Regions from separate parts of the Homo sapiens genome. Here all the other regions are linked to region 2. Evidence: promoter capture Hi-C in 16 types of primary human blood cells and fetal thymus (Javierre and others, 2016). All regions are on one chromosome and are shown on one strand. The core of a region is centred on a gene start or on the middle of the fragment in contact, and the rest is flanking DNA. Distances in the headings are between cores, read along the strand shown.

What was found. Contacts are between HindIII fragments. The CHiCAGO score rates a contact against its expected background, and 5 or more counts as called.
Region 1: a contact is called between a fragment that was not itself captured here and the fragment with the promoter of CNDP1 in region 2, in 2 of 17 cell types (neutrophils and activated CD4 T cells). The highest score is 6.7, in neutrophils.
Region 3: a contact is called between a fragment that was not itself captured here and the fragment with the promoter of CNDP1 in region 2, in 1 of 17 cell types (neutrophils). The highest score is 5.4, in neutrophils.
Region 4: a contact is called between a fragment that was not itself captured here and the fragment with the promoter of CNDP1 in region 2, in 7 of 17 cell types (neutrophils, total CD4 T cells, naive CD8 T cells and 4 more). The highest score is 7.8, in neutrophils.
Region 5: a contact is called between a fragment that was not itself captured here and the fragment with the promoter of CNDP1 in region 2, in 6 of 17 cell types (neutrophils, naive CD8 T cells, naive CD4 T cells and 3 more). The highest score is 10.0, in neutrophils.
Region 6: a fragment that was not itself captured here is called in contact with the fragment with the promoter of CNDP1 in region 2 in 1 of 17 cell types (neutrophils); the score reaches 5.3 in neutrophils.

The regions. Positions count from the first base shown.
Region 1 is chr18:74,183,369-74,186,068 of GRCh38, reverse strand. No RefSeq gene overlaps it. Among named protein-coding and RNA genes, the nearest start is that of TIMM21, 36 kb to the right of the region's middle. The HindIII fragment of the contact is 4,062 bases long and covers 1-2,700 here.
Region 2 is chr18:74,533,114-74,535,813 of GRCh38, reverse strand. CNDP1 (carnosine dipeptidase 1) reads right to left here and starts at 1,314. Exons shown (of 12, transcript NM_032649.6): 1 at 1,123-1,314. The coding sequence starts at 1,146. The HindIII fragment of the contact is 13,353 bases long and covers 1-2,700 here.
Region 3 is chr18:74,251,793-74,254,492 of GRCh38, reverse strand. It overlaps CYB5A (cytochrome b5 type A), which reads left to right. Exons shown (of 5, transcript NM_148923.4): 5 at 828-2,700. The coding sequence ends at 909. Among named protein-coding and RNA genes, the nearest start is that of CYB5A, 39 kb to the left of the region's middle. The HindIII fragment of the contact is 2,287 bases long and covers 204-2,490 here.
Region 4 is chr18:74,166,884-74,169,612 of GRCh38, reverse strand. No RefSeq gene overlaps it. Among named protein-coding and RNA genes, the nearest start is that of TIMM21, 20 kb to the right of the region's middle. The HindIII fragment of the contact is 4,386 bases long and covers 1-2,729 here.
Region 5 is chr18:74,201,388-74,204,087 of GRCh38, reverse strand. No RefSeq gene overlaps it. Among named protein-coding and RNA genes, the nearest start is that of TIMM21, 54 kb to the right of the region's middle. The HindIII fragment of the contact is 6,951 bases long and covers 1-2,700 here.
Region 6 is chr18:74,150,013-74,152,848 of GRCh38, reverse strand. The region is part of intron 1 of TIMM21 (translocase of inner mitochondrial membrane 21); the gene reads right to left. Among named protein-coding and RNA genes, the nearest start is that of TIMM21, 2.9 kb to the right of the region's middle. RefSeq lists an enhancer at 1,133-2,332. The HindIII fragment of the contact is 5,042 bases long and covers 1-2,836 here.

The sequences.
Region 1 (2,700 bases), core at 107-2,606, 350 kb after region 2:
GCAAGTCAGCATAACAGCTGACCCGTATTAAATGTTCAACATATGTTGGTTATTGCTGTAGAATCAGTTACAATCACCATTCTAGTAGAATGGTAGAATCAGTGGAATCACCATTTGGCTGCCTGGAAGAATCTTAGGGGATTTTAGAAGTATTTAATCAGAACCCAGACATCAATCTGCTGTGGAAACACAGTCTTGCCCAAGCCTCACTCAAAGTTTCCAAACTTTTTCATATTTCCTGCCATTTCAGTTTCCCTCTCAGTCCCAGGATGAGCTCATGATCCTTCCAGTATTTCAAAGCAGCCCTAGTGATATAGGAGTTAAAAAGAAATGATTTAGGCAGGTAGTGAGTGTAGACGTGTCCTTGGTAAGGTTTTCTTTTTAATGAAAAGCAGCCCCCAAATCATTTCTTTTCTACCAAAGAGCAGCCTCTAAAATCGAGCTGCAGACATAGATAAGCAAGCTGGAATCCTGCCCAGGTGAATGCCGGCAGCTATGCCAATAGGAAAAGTCTACCTGGGGGGCAGGTATATTCAACACGAAGGCTCTATCTTCCCTTTTCTTTGTCAACCACGTGTACAATAAGGAACAGACAACATGGTGCCAGCCAGATAGAGAACACATCTGCATAATAAAAATTAAGGTGGGGTGGCCAGCTTCTTTGCACACTACATAAATAGCACACCTGGTCCAACCAATTTTTGGGCCCTTTGTAAATCAGACACCGCCTCTTCAAGACAGTCTATCAGCCTATAAAACCCCCGTGCACTTTGCTGCAGACCAGAAGTCCCACTTAGGAGCCCCTCTCTCTCTGCAAGAGACAGAGCTCTTCTCTTTTCTTTCTTTCACCTATTAAACCTCTGCTCTTTAAACTCACTTTTTGTGTGTCCACATCCTTGATTCCCTTGGTGTGAGACAATGAACTTCTGGTATTTACCCCAGACAATGACGCTGCTTCACTAGGTGCCCGAGGCCAAACCTCACACATTCCAGATTACCTACATTTACTGTCCCACACAGGAAGGCATGCATTTTTCACCTTTCCCACCCCACCCAGGTTCTCATGGGCCTGAAAGGGACCGTAAGCTACAGCCCCACTTTGAGGCCCTTGGAGAGTTTTCCAATGCATTTGGCAAAGGTGAGATGGCAGCTGCTCACTGTACCACCTGGGATACCAGTCAAACCTGCATTTTCCACCTTTTGTGTTATTGGAACTTTAAAAATTAATACCTCTGTATGATTAATGCCTCTGTATGATTGTGAATATTGTTCTAGAATATATAAATTATAATTAAATGTAGTTAAGGGTCTTGCTTTTGGAAAGAAACTGAGATGAATCTTTGGTGAATAGAGGAATCCACCTGTGTTGCAAATCTTTTCTCCCTAACTGGCACATTTGTATTTTCTACCTAATTGGCACATTTGTATTTCTTTAGAGAAGAACAGTGAATAAAAGAGGTAAACAAAGGAAAGTAAATTGCCCTTTTCAAGTCTGCCAGCTGTAACACCCAGAAGAGCGTTTTCTTCTTATTCTTCTAAGAATCAAGGCTCATAGGTATGTGCTAAAGAGTAATGAGGCAAGTTAAGAAGGTCTTCCGAAATACTGCTGGGGAAATTTAGCCCATTGTTACCAAAGACTTACAAAAACTTAAAGCCGTTTCCCTTCATTAAAAAACATGAGCAGTGAAACCTACTACATTGGCTTTCTGGAAACCAAAGAAAAGGACCTTGCTAAATTACTGTTAAGACAAACAATACCTTGTAGACTGACCTTATTAAGTCAGATGGCAGCTTTAGGGGTGAGCCTGGAACCTTTCTTTAAGTGGTGGTGGGCACAGTAATAATGTAGGGAAATGGAAAGGTCCTAGCCCCCCAAAACCTCCCTACCCACTGGCTTGTGCCTTCTAGATCACATTCTAAGCTCGTGTACTTTGTTTGAAGATCTGAATTTCCCAAATACATACACTATGGGCTTCTTAAATGGAACTCTCAATAAACTGTGACAGAAAGATGGTTAATGAGTAAGGTGGAACTTATTAAAGAGAAAGAGGCATAATTACAGTTTGAAGACAGGTTTAAAAATTAAAGCAGATAGGTTGTAGTGGAAATAAAATAGAAATTTCAAACATTTTAATTAAATTGTTTAAATTAAATTACTTCATTTCCATTTTAATTAACTTTAATTAACATAATGTGACATTATGAGCTTTAAAAAAAATGTTTTTCCCGATTTCCTTGGGAAATGTGGCCTAAGGAGAATGGATGGCACTGCCTCTCCGGGTCCTGTGTGCTCCCACTGCCTGAGTCATGATTCTCTCCAGCACCATTCTCCACCCCTCCAGACAGTGCTCTTGGAGGGAATGCATCCCATATATCGGGCCTCTCAATGATATCACGACAAAGGAACTGGCATAAAGAAACTTCTGATGGTCTCATTGCAGTAACGAGCTTAAAAAGAAAATGACAACCTTAGTTCAGGTAAGGTCAGTATTTGCAGACCTGTGGATTTGTAAGGATGCTCTGGAAAGAAAAGCTAATCTCAAATGTGCCAAAAAGGAATGTGAATGTATTAGGGCATGCCTAATTTTTATTGGTGTTAATAAGTAGAGGAATGTTAGTACACACATGTGTGGGGTTTATTCTTTTAAGTTCATGTCTATTATGAAGCACAGATATGCTCTTGTTTCCTCTGTGTAACAT
Region 2 (2,700 bases), core at 65-2,564:
GTGATCCTCCTGCTTTGGCCTCCTAAAGTGTTGGGATTGCAGACATAAGCCACCATGCCCAGCCAGGGAAATTATTTTCTTTCATGTTGCTTTTAACTTTAATGTTTTGAATAGATACTATCATGACACAGTTTAAAGATTTTTTAAAGTAAGACAGTATTCAGTGAAATGTCCTCTTCTAACCCCCACCCCAATGCCCTGGCCAGTCATGGGTTCTTTAAAAAAAAAAAAAAGTCAGCAATGGAAAGCATGGCCAGACCACAGGGTGAGGTTCTTTCTCTCAGAGCAGTGATTTTGCAGCATGGTGTGGGAATCTCATGGTCTTGCAGGTGGGCAAAGCCCACTTCTAGAATCCGGCTGTGGTCAGGTCACCACCTGCCTGCTCACTGTGTCTCCAGCCTCGCATTTGCATGTATTTGTTTCAGTATGTCTTTTGAGAGTCTTCTACGTATCAACCTTCCACAAAATTCTGAAAATTTCTGTGTGTGTATGTGTGTGTTTGCAATGGAAATAAAAAGCGTCCATGAATTTTATCTTTCCAAGTAGTCTGGAACACAACCCCACAAAACCTCACAGCCAAAGGTACCTGCCTGCTTGTTTTCCTAGAGAGAAGCCTTCCCGCCACACCCACACTCAGGTTTGCACCTGAACCATGGAAACCTCGCCGAGAAAGGCCTGGGGTGATTTAGCCCGGTGATTAGCTCTTGCAAACTAGCCCTTAAGTCGGGAACCTGGGACCAGGACAAACAGCACACTGTCTGTTACCATTATTTAGGCAAATTCTTCCAGGAAGCAAACTCATTTTTTTTAAAGAGAAAAAGTACAGAAAAAAATTGATTTAAGAAGACTGAGTTCATGAACAATTTGAATATGAACTACTTGACAATAATGCCATTTAATTATTGTTAAGAACACACAACTACCCAAAAGCATTACTGATAAAATATAATTCCAAATACCACATTCCTCGGCCAAGACAGCACCTAAGAACACCATGAGGAGCAGCATCTGGGGCCACGCTGGGTGCCTGCCCTGCCCAACTGGGCTTAACGCACATGCTCCCGGGACAAATGGAATTCTGGCACCCAATGCACGGACTCTGATGGAGGAGGTCCTACTCACCATTCTCCCGAGTTTGGGATCCATTAGGCTGGAGTTCTGAAGCCTCTAGCAACTTTCCCAACCTCCAAAAAATGTGGCAGAGGGAGTCCCATGAAAGCCCCAAGAGGGTGACATTAAATATCTCTCTGTGCCCTGACCCACGTTGTCCCCCGGAAGGAAGACGAGGCTGGTATAGTGGAGCTATTCACATCTGGAGAACAAAGCGGCTTCGGAGGTATTCATTCAGCTCAACTGCAGAGGAAGAGACAATGCATCTCATACGCGCAGATACGGGATGAGGCAGTGGCCCCAAAGTCATGTGATGTCACTGGAAGCCAGCAGCCTGGCCCAGCCTGCGACTCCTCGGGTTCTTCTTTGGGGGCACTTGTGTGTCATCTCTGAGAGGGAGTAGGGCCCCGGCCAGCAGGCAGAGCTGAGCCAGCGGCACAGCCCCCTCAGGTGACAGCCCCCTCACATGACAGGCCCCCACACACTGTGGCTGTGGGCCCTTGTGATGGAATGTTACGGCCGAGGATTAGCTTCCTAGGGCTGTGCAGGGGCCGAGGGTAGAGTTTTCCCAGCTCTCTGAAGGTTCGCTGCAAAATCAGCTTGCAAAGGGCAGTTGAATTGGAGAAGAGGCATAACAGATTGATTTGCTCCTAGTTTTAAGTGACATGGGAGCCTTCAGAAGGAAGGACCAATCCCTAATGGGGTTGGGAAGCTGAGACACCCTCTTGAGGTTCCACAAGGAGTGGCGGCTTAGATTCTCGCGCAACAGGTTATGGGAGGAGAAAAGAGGACTTCAGCTGAGGGCAATCAGCGCTCACGAGGGAGGATTCAGTGGGCTTGAAGAGCACGCCACGGTCTTCGTTCAAGTCTGCTGGGCCCCGGAGCAGACAATGGTCTTGACAAGTCTGTCCAGCGTGTTCGGTGTCAGCCTTCCTTCCTGAGATATGGGTTCAGTTAACGAAAACTCAGGGAAGGGACTAGAGGTCATTCCTTTCTTCTTTGGTGGGTCAGACTTGAAGGAGATAAGGACACTTCAGGAACTCTGGGAGAGATGGTGGGGGTGGGGGAGCCGAGAGGCCTTGAAGTTCCTTTTCAGTTCAGCTTGAACAAAGCACCATATTTTGGGGTATTGGCTTCTGAGCCCCAACATCTGCTCTAACAAAAGTACCCTACACTGGGTGGCTTAAGCAACAGAAATCGGTCTCAATTCTGGAGACTGGAAGTCTGAGATGAAGGTATGGGCAGGGCAGGTTTCTCCTGAGGCTGAGCGGGAAGGGCGTGCTCCAGGCCTTGACCCGCGTGGCTGCTGGCCGTCCTTGGTGTCCCTTGTCTTGTACAAGCATCACCCGATCTCTGCCCTCATCTTCTTATGATGTTCTCCCTGTGTATGTGTGTGTGTCCAGATTGTCCCTTCTCATAAGGACACAGTTGTGTGTAATCAGGGGTCCATCCTATGCCCATGTGACCTTATCTAAAGATAAGTAATTCAATCTGCAATGACCCTATCTCCATAGAAGGTCACATTCTGAGGTCTTGGGGGTTAGGATGTCAACATATAAATTTTGGTGGGAAGGTCAGGGGACAGTAGAG
Region 3 (2,700 bases), core at 98-2,597, 280 kb after region 2:
TTTGTCCCTGATTTGATTTGTAATCTGTAATTTATAGATCGAAATTCTATGCATCAGGACTGTAAATTTAGGCTTTTTTTTTTTTTTTTTTGGTGAATTTAGACCTGTGGACCACACACCAAGTAGTCTGGCCATTCTGTTTCTTAACCCTTTAAATCCACTTCAGCACAGGTAGTAAAGATTAGATTTTCCAAACCTAAGCTTAAAGCTGTGGTGTTAATGGCAGTGTTAATCATCACAGGGCCCATACTCTTCAACTTTACAGCTGGTGGGGCATTCATTTTTTGGTTTGTTTATTTTTGTTAGTTTGTTTTTGAGACAGTCTCGCTCTATCACACAGGCTGGAGTGCAGTGGCGTGATCTCGGCTCACTGCAACCTCTGCCTCCCAGGTTCAAGCGATTCTCCTGCCCCAGCCTCCCAAGTAGCTGGGATTACAATTAGCTACTGCCACCACGCCCAGCTACTTTTTGTATTTTTTGGTAGAAGGTTTTTACTATGTTGGCCAGGCTGGTCTCAAACTTCTGACCTCAAGTGATCCGTCTGCCTTGGCCTCCCAAAGTGCTGGGATTACAGGCGTGAGCCACTGAGCCCAGCCAAGTGGGGCATGAGTTTTCTCATAAAGCCAGCAGGGCAGAGTGATTCCTAGTATAGCAGGGCATGTGTTACACTCATGTCACTTTTAGCAAATCCACGTTGCCTTTTCAGCAAAATTCATTACAGAGTTAAGAAAAACATGCCCTGGTAATTTTCTGTTAGAAGGAGCAAAGATTTTGAGTCCACCACAGTGCACATCATGTCAGCATCATTGCTTTTTGTGTCTTTCTAGTTGGTGGACCAACTGGGTGATCCCTGCCATCTCTGCAGTGGCCGTCGCCTTGATGTATCGCCTATACATGGCAGAGGACTGAACACCTCCTCAGAAGTCAGCGCAGGAAGAGCCTGCTTTGGACACGGGAGAAAAGAAGCCATTGCTAACTACTTCAACTGACAGAAACCTTCACTTGAAAACAATGATTTTAATATATCTCTTTCTTTTTCTTCCGACATTAGAAACAAAACAAAAAGAACTGTCCTTTCTGCGCTCAAATTTTTCGAGTGTGCCTTTTTATTCATCTACTTTATTTTGATGTTTCCTTAATGTGTAATTTACTTATTATAAGCATGATCTTTTAAAAATATATTTGGCTTTTAAAGTATGCACCGTGTTTGCCTGTTTGGTGTATAATTGTCTTTAATGTTTAGAATCTGGTTATTTAGAGGATTCCTTCAATGTGTTACTCATCCAGACCCACAGAGGCCATATGACTGGAGGTGCGGGAAATAGGTTTGAGTGTCTCCTTTCACATCGTCACATCTCATTGAGTAACCATGTATTGTATGCTTCCGATATAGTTTCTTTTTTTCAAGGAAATTAAGAAAGGCCAGAAATTATAGTTTAAGGATTTCTAATAATTGTCCTACTTGAAATAGATCTTAAAAAGAAAGTAGCGGCTGGGCATCGTGGCTCACACCTGTAAGCCCAGCACTTTGGGAGGCTGAGGTGGGTGGATCACTTGAGGTCAGGAGTTCAAGACCAGCCTGACCAACATGGTGAAACCCTGTCTCTACTAAAAATACAAAATTAGCAGGGCGTAGTGGCGCATGCCTGTAATCCCGGCTACTTGGGAGGCTGAGGCAGGAGAATTGCTTGAACCCAGGAGGCAGAGGTTGTAGTGAGCTGAGATCGCGCCGTTGAACTCCAGCTGGGCAACAAGAGTGAAACTCTGTCTCAAAAAAAAAAGAAAGTAGCCTACAGGGCCTATAAGAGAGACTTCTTATCTTCACTGATTGAAAAACATCAGCAACTTAAAAACACATGAACCATGAGAGGGCATCGCAACTGTCCATTCTCTCAGCTTACACGTATCATTGCAAAGGCACTCACAGCTTCATAGGTTCTAAAGTTTTAAGAATTCCTCATTCAGAGAGTAGAATTGTTTGTAAACTCTTCTAAGGAAAGGCTGGTTTTCTAATTTGTAAGGAGATTGTGGGACATTGGAATCTGATCTTTGAAGAAATTTAGCGGCTAGTGTCAAGCTCTGAAGAGTTCTGGTGTGGCTCTGTCTCCTCCTGGGGGCTCTAAGGGGCTGATTCAGTCATCTTACTTCCCATTTATTATTCTCTGCCTTATGTGTTATTCTTTTAAATGTGGAAACTTGAAAGCTGAATTTGTTAGAACCCAGTACATGTGTCATTGGCTGTGACTGCATTTGCACTGGCATGAGCTGACAAACCACGAGGTTCTTCAGAAGTGACCGCGTGCAGTGGAAAGGAATTGTGTTGTTCTTACAGAGTACAACCTTTATAATCAAATAGGATGCACCGCCTTTGCCTTCTTTAGTCACTGAAAGTTGACAAGTAGTTTCTATTTCAAAATAAATTACAACACTTGTTAAGGGACCTATGTAAATATTTCAATATTTTTGGTTGTGATTTTTAGCTATAAAGCTTCACATTTTAGTAGTTTTTAAAACATTGCTCCTAAATCAACTATGAAGTGAATCGAAGTGGGTCAGTCGTACCTTAGATGACATTAAAGGGTTAACTTGTAAATCATTTTTAAGATGTTGAGTAATAGCATCTGTATATCGTTAAGAAACATAACAGTTGAACTTTGACATTTTTATCAGTGACTCAGCAATTTGCTGCTGTGGCTGGCA
Region 4 (2,729 bases), core at 84-2,583, 370 kb after region 2:
CAAGACCACTTTTGTATGCAACGGGACACATCCGTAATTTTTGCAGCCTCCTATCTCTCATGGCTGGCACTCCAGGAATTTGGTAGCTTTCTCAGTCACTTTTTGAATAATGCATTGCTTGGGTATTAGAACTATAGGTACTTATAAGGTTTAGATTTAACACATTTTTTTTTTTCTGAGAACTTATTAACATCCAAATACTGTAGTAACTGGAGATACAGGAATTAAAATGATGCCTTCTCTATGTACAATGTAAAAGGAAGGCAAGAAACATACCGACAGTTGCGGGGTAACCATGTGCCAGCTACTGCTGAAGCCCCTTCCCTATGGCCTCATATGGTCCTTACAAAATCCCTAAGAAGTAGGTATTATTGTCCTCATTTAAGAGATGGGGAAACTGAAATGTAGGCAGGTAAAAAAACAAAAAAAACATGAAAGGCAACATTAGGTGATGTGTAAACACTCAGGATTTGAAAATCAGACATCCCTGGTTCCAGGCGTGTATGGTAAGATGACCTCGGGCCACACACTGCTGTAGCAGATGCTTTTGGTGGCCTCCTGAGGGGTGGTCTCCCACAAGGTGGGTTCACATTTCAATCTGGGAACCTGCGGATATTATCTTCTATGGTAAAATATGTGCTTAAGTTAAGGATTTTGAGAGGATGCATTAGTCCTGGGTTATAGGGGTGGGCCCTAAATTCAAGGGCATGTATTTTTGTAAGACAGACACAGAAGAGAAGACAAGTGCAGAGGAGATTATGATGTAAAGATGGAGGCAGAGACGGGGGTGATGTGGCCACAAGCCTCGGAATGCCGATAATTTTTAGAAAATTTGATTATCATTCCTATAGACATATTACTTCCCCAATTTTTTAATAAATTAAATAGAGAGACCATAGAAAATCCCGAAAGGGCTTCCCATGGATGTTGATGAAAATAATGCTAAATATTATGTTAAAGTAAAGAGCTAACATTAGCTAGAGTATTTCTGAATAAGAAGAGTAGGGAGAGTGACTTTCTCTTACTAGGTATCAGCATCTACTATGAAGCTATGTAGTAAATAGATAAGTGCAGTATTGGTATTAGCAAAAATTAACCAATAGAATGAAAGAGAGCCAAAAAATAGACCTGTACACATATGGGATTTCGGTGTATGACAGACGTAGATGTCAGTTCAGTAAATGGAGCTGGAATGCATGGTCATCCATACGGAAAACATAAAGTTGGATCACTACTTCATACTCTTAAAATAAAAATAATCAACTCCAGATGAATTAATGACTTAATATCAAAAACAAAACTTAAAATGGTTAATAGACAATGGAGATGAATATCCTTTCAATCTTGGTTTAGACTCCTTACACAAAAACTTGAGAAAGAGTACCTACATAAGACACAGTACCTTTTTACTTTAAAAGAAAAGATACACTTGATCTTGACTTTATTATCGTTAAAAACATTTGATCATCCAAAGATATCATATATAAAGCAAAATAGCAAGTTTAAAACTTGGAGATAGTCTTTTATGCACACAACCAATGGAATATTACTATCAAATATATAAAAACCTTCTTACAAATTAATAAGAAAATAGAGGCCAGGCATGGTGGCTCATGCCTGTAATTCCAACACTTTGGGAGGCCAAGGCAGGTGGATCACTTGAGGTCAGGAGTTTGAGACCAGCCTGGCTAATATGGTGAAACCCTGTCTCTACTAAAAATACAAAAATTATCAGGGAGTGGTAGTGGGCACCTGTAATCCCAGCTACTTGGGAGGCAGAGGCAGGAGAATCGTTTGAGCCTGGGAGGAGGAGGTTGTAGTGAGCCCAGATCATGCCACTGCACCTCCAGCCTGGGCAACAGAGTGAGACTTGGTCTCAAAAAAACAAAAACAAACAAATAAACAAACACAAAGAAAACAGAAAAATACCAATAAAAGCACATGCAAAAGACATGAACAGGCATTTGTCCAGAAGAAGGAACACGTAAACCACATAAAAATGTTCATTAATGATTAGTGAATGGGAGTCAAGACCACCAAGAGACCCCTTTTACACCATGTGGCTGGCAAATATGAACAAGACTGACAGTCACAGGGTAGGGCAGGATGCGACGCCACAGGGTTTCTTACAATGCACGGCTGGAAGTCACGCTGCTACAATCACTTACAACTTCTTAAAGTTAGCTGCCATAACAGAATACCACTGGCTTGGGGGATTAAACAACAGACGTTTATTTTCCCACAGTCCTGGAGGCTGAAAGTCCAAGATCAAGGTGTCAGCAGGGTGGGTTTCTCCTGAGATCTCTCCTCGGCTTGCAGATGTCCACCTTCTTGCAGTGTCCTCACATGCTACTTCCTCTGTGCAAATGCCTCCCTGGTGTCTCTGTGTGCCCAGATTTCCTTTCATTATAAGGACAAATCAAATTGGATGAGGGCCCTCCACCCTCATTATAACTTAATCACCCCTTTAAAAGCCCTATCCTCAAATTCAGCTACATTCAGAGGTGCTGGGGTTGGGAGGTTTCATCACAGGGGTTTTGGAGGCCAGAGGGAGACATAGTTCAGTCTGTAACAGGAGGCATCAGCCTCTGCTACCCTTAGCTTTCCCCTCTCTTCTTTCCATGGTTCTGTCCTTGTTTCTTCCTTCTTCCTTTCTGGCCTGTCCATCCATCCAGCTGTCTATTATCTGTGCATCTCACCTGTCCATCCCTGTCATCCACTTGTCCCTC
Region 5 (2,700 bases), core at 77-2,576, 330 kb after region 2:
AGAGGAGCCCATCCCTGACACGCAGGCTGTGAGGCCACTGTGCAGCCTTGTTCCTGGCCCACCAAGGAAGCCAGCTGCACCGCGTGGAGGGAGCTGACGTGCAGAGAGGAGATCCTCGTGGGGTCAAGGCCTGACCCAGCTATCCTTGAAGGCAGCTGCATCTCTGGCCTTCTTATATCTGGCTGAACAATCCCCACCCATTTTTTTTTTTTTTTTGATTCCAGAGGTTGTTAAATTTCCTTTATGCCTAAACTTGCTTGAGTTGTGTTTCTGACACTAGATGCTAAAAAAGTCTGACAGCCGCATAGCCTTGGGTTCTGGAAGGCAAGCCACAGAAACCTGTCCATGTGGCTACTGTGTGTTACAGCCTTTAAGGCCTTCCCCCAGCTCCCCTGAAGCTGGAGTCCCGGGGCAAGGGCACCCACCAATTATGGGTTGAAATGTGTCCCTTAAAATTTCATATGTTGAAGTCCTAACCCCCAGTACCTCAGAATGTGACCTTATTTGGAGATAGGGTCTTTATAGAGGCAATCAAATTCCAATGTGGTCATTAGGGTGGGCCCTAAGCCAGTATGACTGTGTCCTTTTCAAAAGGGGAAATGTGGATGCGGAGACAGACATGCATGCAGGGAGAAGGCCCTGTGAAGATGGAGGCAGAAGTCGAGGTGATGCTTCTGCACACCAACGAGCACCAAAGGTTGCCAGCAGCTGCCAGAAGCAGGGAGAGAGGCCAAGAACAGCTTCTCTCTCCGTGCCCTCGGAAGGAACCAGCCCCTGGGCACCTTCATCTCGGAATTCCAGCTTCCACAGCTGTATCTAAGTCTTCCTGGGTGTGGTTCCTTGTTATGGCAGCCCTGGGGAAGAACATGGTGCCATCCCCGTCACGTGGGCACTGAGAGCACCATCATGGCCAGGGAGGCCAGCCCTTCCTTCTGTGGCCATGGGAAGACCGTACTCTGTGGGCCGTGCTGTGACTGGGCTGGTGACCCTCGTGGGCCGTGGCTGTGACTGGGCTGGTGACCCCCAGGCTCCACACATGTGCACATCAGCTTCCTCTAGAGCCATCTTCCATGATCTGATTCAAACGCTGGACTTCTCTTCTACTAGACCAGAGCCTCGAGGCCAACTAATCTTCAACGAAACTGAAAAAATGATTTCCAGCAACTGAGCTACTCTCACAAGTATAGAGGATTGAGTAGGATTGGGCATCAAGCATAAATATGGATTTGAGATGTCCTTTTGGAATAGCACAACTCATATGGTATCACTGCCTCAGGGGCTGGTCTCTTGGGATTCCTGGATCCCCACATTTTGGACTCATTGCGCTACTGAAGTGAGAGGATGGAGAGGACTTGGAGATCACCTGTGTCCCTCATCTTACCAATCACTGGGGTCCTGGGCTCTGACTGGCCTGAGGTCCTTCTGCCATCACAGAGCAAAACAATTCACTTGGCAGCTTCTGCTCCTCCCATGTCCCAAGGACCCCCTGCCCAGGGTTGGGGCCCATTGAGGCATCCAGTCACCAGCTCAGACTGAGACCCTTTCCTGTAAGGCTTCATGCAGATACCCCTCATATCTGTGGGGTCAAACCCCTCAGCTCCAAATCTCTGAGCCTCTGAATGCATAATCTGGTTGTGCGTTTTGGTTAGATTGATCAAAGCACAGCAGGACTCACCTTTAAGTTCTCAGGTGACAGCAGCATTATCAAAGCCCTTCTTGGGTTTATTTCTATTTCTAGTTCCTAGGGAAGAGAAAAAAAAAAAGGGGATGATATATAACACTGAACAAGCATTTACTTACGTAATCTCATTTAATCCTCACAGCCAGCCCACTGTATTAGTTGCCCAGAGATGCTGTAACCAAGTACCATAGACTAGGTGGTGTAGTAACAGAAATTTACTCTCCCACAGCTCTGGAGGCCAGAAGTCCAAAATCAAGGTGTCCTCAGGGCCATTCTCCCTCTGAAGACTCTAGGGGAGGGTCCATCCTGCTTCCTCCAGCCTCTGGAGAGGTGGTTGTTGGCAATCCTCTCTGTTCCTTGATATGTGGGTACATTACTCCAATCGCTGCCTCTGTCCTCGCCTGGCCTCTGCATGTGTATCTCTCTGTGTCCCACCTCTTCCCATAAGAACACCCGGCACTGGACTTAGGGCCCATCCAAATCCAGTATGATCTATCTTCATTCACACATTAATGATATCTGCAATGATTGTATTTCCACATAAGGTCACATTTACATATCTTTTTGGGGGGATGCAGCAAACTTCCAACACTTACCTTGATTTTATAGATGACCAGGTCAATATTTAGAGCAGCTAAGTCATCTTTCAGGTTTTAGTTTGTGTTGGGGATGCAAAATTTCTCCTCAGCCCTTTTAGAGTTGCTAGATGAGCCCAGTGAATCCACTGACAGAGACAGCTTCAGAGGAGAAAAGTAGGCAGATTTTATTAAGTAATTTTTGTATAGACATGGGAGCCCTCACAAGAAAAACGAAGACCCAAAGAAGGAGTTGGGGCCACGAACTTATGCACTAGGTTGAACAAAGTGTCATAAATTGTGGAAACATGACAAGACAAAGGGGCTTGGGTAGGGCAGTCAGTTGGGGGCAAATGACCAGGAAGGTAAGTGTTGGCTTCACAAGGTTTGTTTGTAGAGCACCCTGGGCTTTGACTCTGATGACAAGGATCTCTTCCTTTCTCC
Region 6 (2,836 bases), core at 324-2,823, 380 kb after region 2:
CTGCAAATGCACTTCGGCCTCTCCCTCTGCCCAGTCCTGCTTCCCTCATCCCTCAAGACGTATTCTGAGAGCACTCCCTGATAAACCTTACGCAAATCCCACTTCCCTGGGAAGCCAACCTACAACGGGTGCTACCAGGAGTGGTAAGCAGCTCTCAATTTGGATTTTGGAGCTGGCTTGCCGGCCACTGGCTGGCAATGAGGACCCTGTCCCTGGTGGTAGGGGGGTACTGACAGCACCTGTCATAGAGCTGTAGTGCAGCTGATGCAGCTCTCACCAATGGGGACCTGGGATGGAATGCTGGCGGAAGGGAATGTACTGGCTGATGTGTTATTCTGGGAGTTTAGGAGGAATCAGCAATTTTAAGGACTTATATCAGACGGCTGTGGCTGGGGCCATGGAGAGGGATGGTGAGATGAAGTGTGTAACTAATCACCAGTGAAGGTGAGTGCCAAGGGCAGGAGCCTCCTCCCCGGCAGAACAAGACTCAAATTGCACCCAGAGGATAGAAAATGCGTGGGTGAGGTCTGGGGCGGAAGGGATTCAGGGAGTTTGGCATTTCAAGCCCATGAGACCTCCCACACCAAGGTCAGGGTCCTGATTTGGGAGGAAAGGCAACCTAAAGCTGGGTAGGGGGCCCTTGAGGTCAATGTTGTAAAAAATCTTGAATCCCAATTCTCCTGACCCCTCTAGCCCTGAAGCAGCAGCTCAGTGTCTGGTAAAGGTTGGCACTTCCTCCACCTTGGAAACTGGGCGAGGGGTGGGTGGGGGTTTCTGCCTAGCAAGATACGTGCTGCTCTCAGGAGGGCTCTCCACCTCCCCTCCTGGCCAAGTTACAACACGACTGGGCATGAGAAGGGTGAGAAGAACAATACTCGGAAGGAGCTGGAGGTCCCCCCGGGGGGGGGGGGAACATAGACACCACTGCTTCTTAAGGGTGGTGTGTCAAGGGCACAGAACACAAAACCAGCTGAGAGTTGATCAGCATGGGGCACGCTCCTGTGATGAATTTAGCAACCAGGCAAGCACCCTGGGAACTGATATGCAGCTGGCTAGGTCTGCTCCTGGAAACTTCGAGACAGTGATGGTCCACATTAAGTAAAAGTGACAGAACAGCCATGGCAAACTGGACGAAAGGCTCAACAGCCTCCAAGAATGGGGATGCTACCATAGATATAAGATATAAAGCCCGAAAACCCACCAGCTGACTATGTTCTTAGGAGGGACAGGAGGACACTGTGTACCAAAGCCACAAGGAAGCCACAGTTACATCTTTATAGAGCAGGATGCCCTGACAGAAATGGAGATGAAAGAATTATGAAGCAGAGACCAGGCTGGGGTGTTAAACAGAAGCCAAGGTGGGTGCAACCATCATAACTAATGGCAAGGCTGGAGTGGCAGTCGGGAGTGTCTGACCTACAGAAAGCAACAGAGTTGATGACTAGAACACAGTGTTTCCAAAGGGAAGACACAAGGGCAGCGGACAAGGCTACTTCTGAATTACACAGTCATGAGAAATTAACTACAGATGATTCCTGAGGCTGAAGGCAGCTGCTCTAATGCAAAGTCCTGAACATTGCCCCAGTTTCTGGACCTGAACCAGTTTTCAGACCTGGAACGCATTTACTGAAGGAAAGCGTATGTAACTGACTCCCCCCGTCCTTCACCAAAAGGACCTACAGTTATCAACTTGGACATAGTCTGTGCTGACAGTGATACCCAAGGACCCAAAGAGTCATGATGACCCCCTGACCGCCCTCCATCACCGGATGTAAGAAGCTCACAGGTGGGTCCAGGGACTTACCTGGCAATAATTTCTGTGATTTCCAAATGTATAAATCAAGGGGATGTACTGAGTAACTGGCAACAATAACTCCCACTTTAGTTCCTTTGGAAGTGGGTTAAGAGCCATCGCAGTGGGAAAAGTCAAATGGAAGCCCCTGAAGCTGCCCTTTCGGTGACCAAGATAGGAAATTAAAAATGATATCACATCTATGGGGAATGGCAGAGTATTCTTAGAGACCTTAGATACAGGCATGGCGATCCCCATCACGGTCCCTTGTAATTTACCAGTCTTCCTTTACAAAACACAAATAGGTGCTGGAGAATGACAGTGGTTAACTGCAAACTCAACCAAGTGGCAGCCGGGGTACACATGTAATACCACAAATGGTAACTTTACAGGGGAATGCATTAACACAATCTCATGGTATTGGCCATTGCTTTGAAGAACGCCTTCTATTCAGAAGCAGCAGCAGTAGTCTGTAGTAACATGAAACAGATAATAACAGTGTATGTTTATGATCCTGCCCAGGATTTGCTAATTCTCTCACCCTCTATCATAACAGTCTTAAGGGACTGAAACCTTCTGGACCTGGGCTGTCTAATACAGTAGCCACTTGCCACTCATGGCTATTTCAGTTCAATTTTAAATTAATTAAAATTAAATCAATTCAGTTCTTCAGTCACAAGTTTTAGCAACATTTCAAGTGCTCAAAATAGCTACAAGTGGCCAGGAACTACCCAAATGGACAGCACAGATATAGGACATTTCTATGCAGAAAGTTTTATTTGAATAATGCTGTTCTGGACATTCAGGAGAATATCACATTTGTCTACTATATTTATGCCATCATGTTAGAGCCCATAAGTAACAAGTGGCAAGTGTGTTAGAAGGCTTGGTCAGAGAAGCTGCAAGTGTGAGAGGTGGGTCCAACAAAGATGCAGAGGCTCATCAACACATGAGCCGACCTCGTGGGGCTACACTGGGGCGTGCCAAGACATGCCCTCCCAAGTAAAAGACAATTGTACCCTATACCTCCTACCACAATGCTTC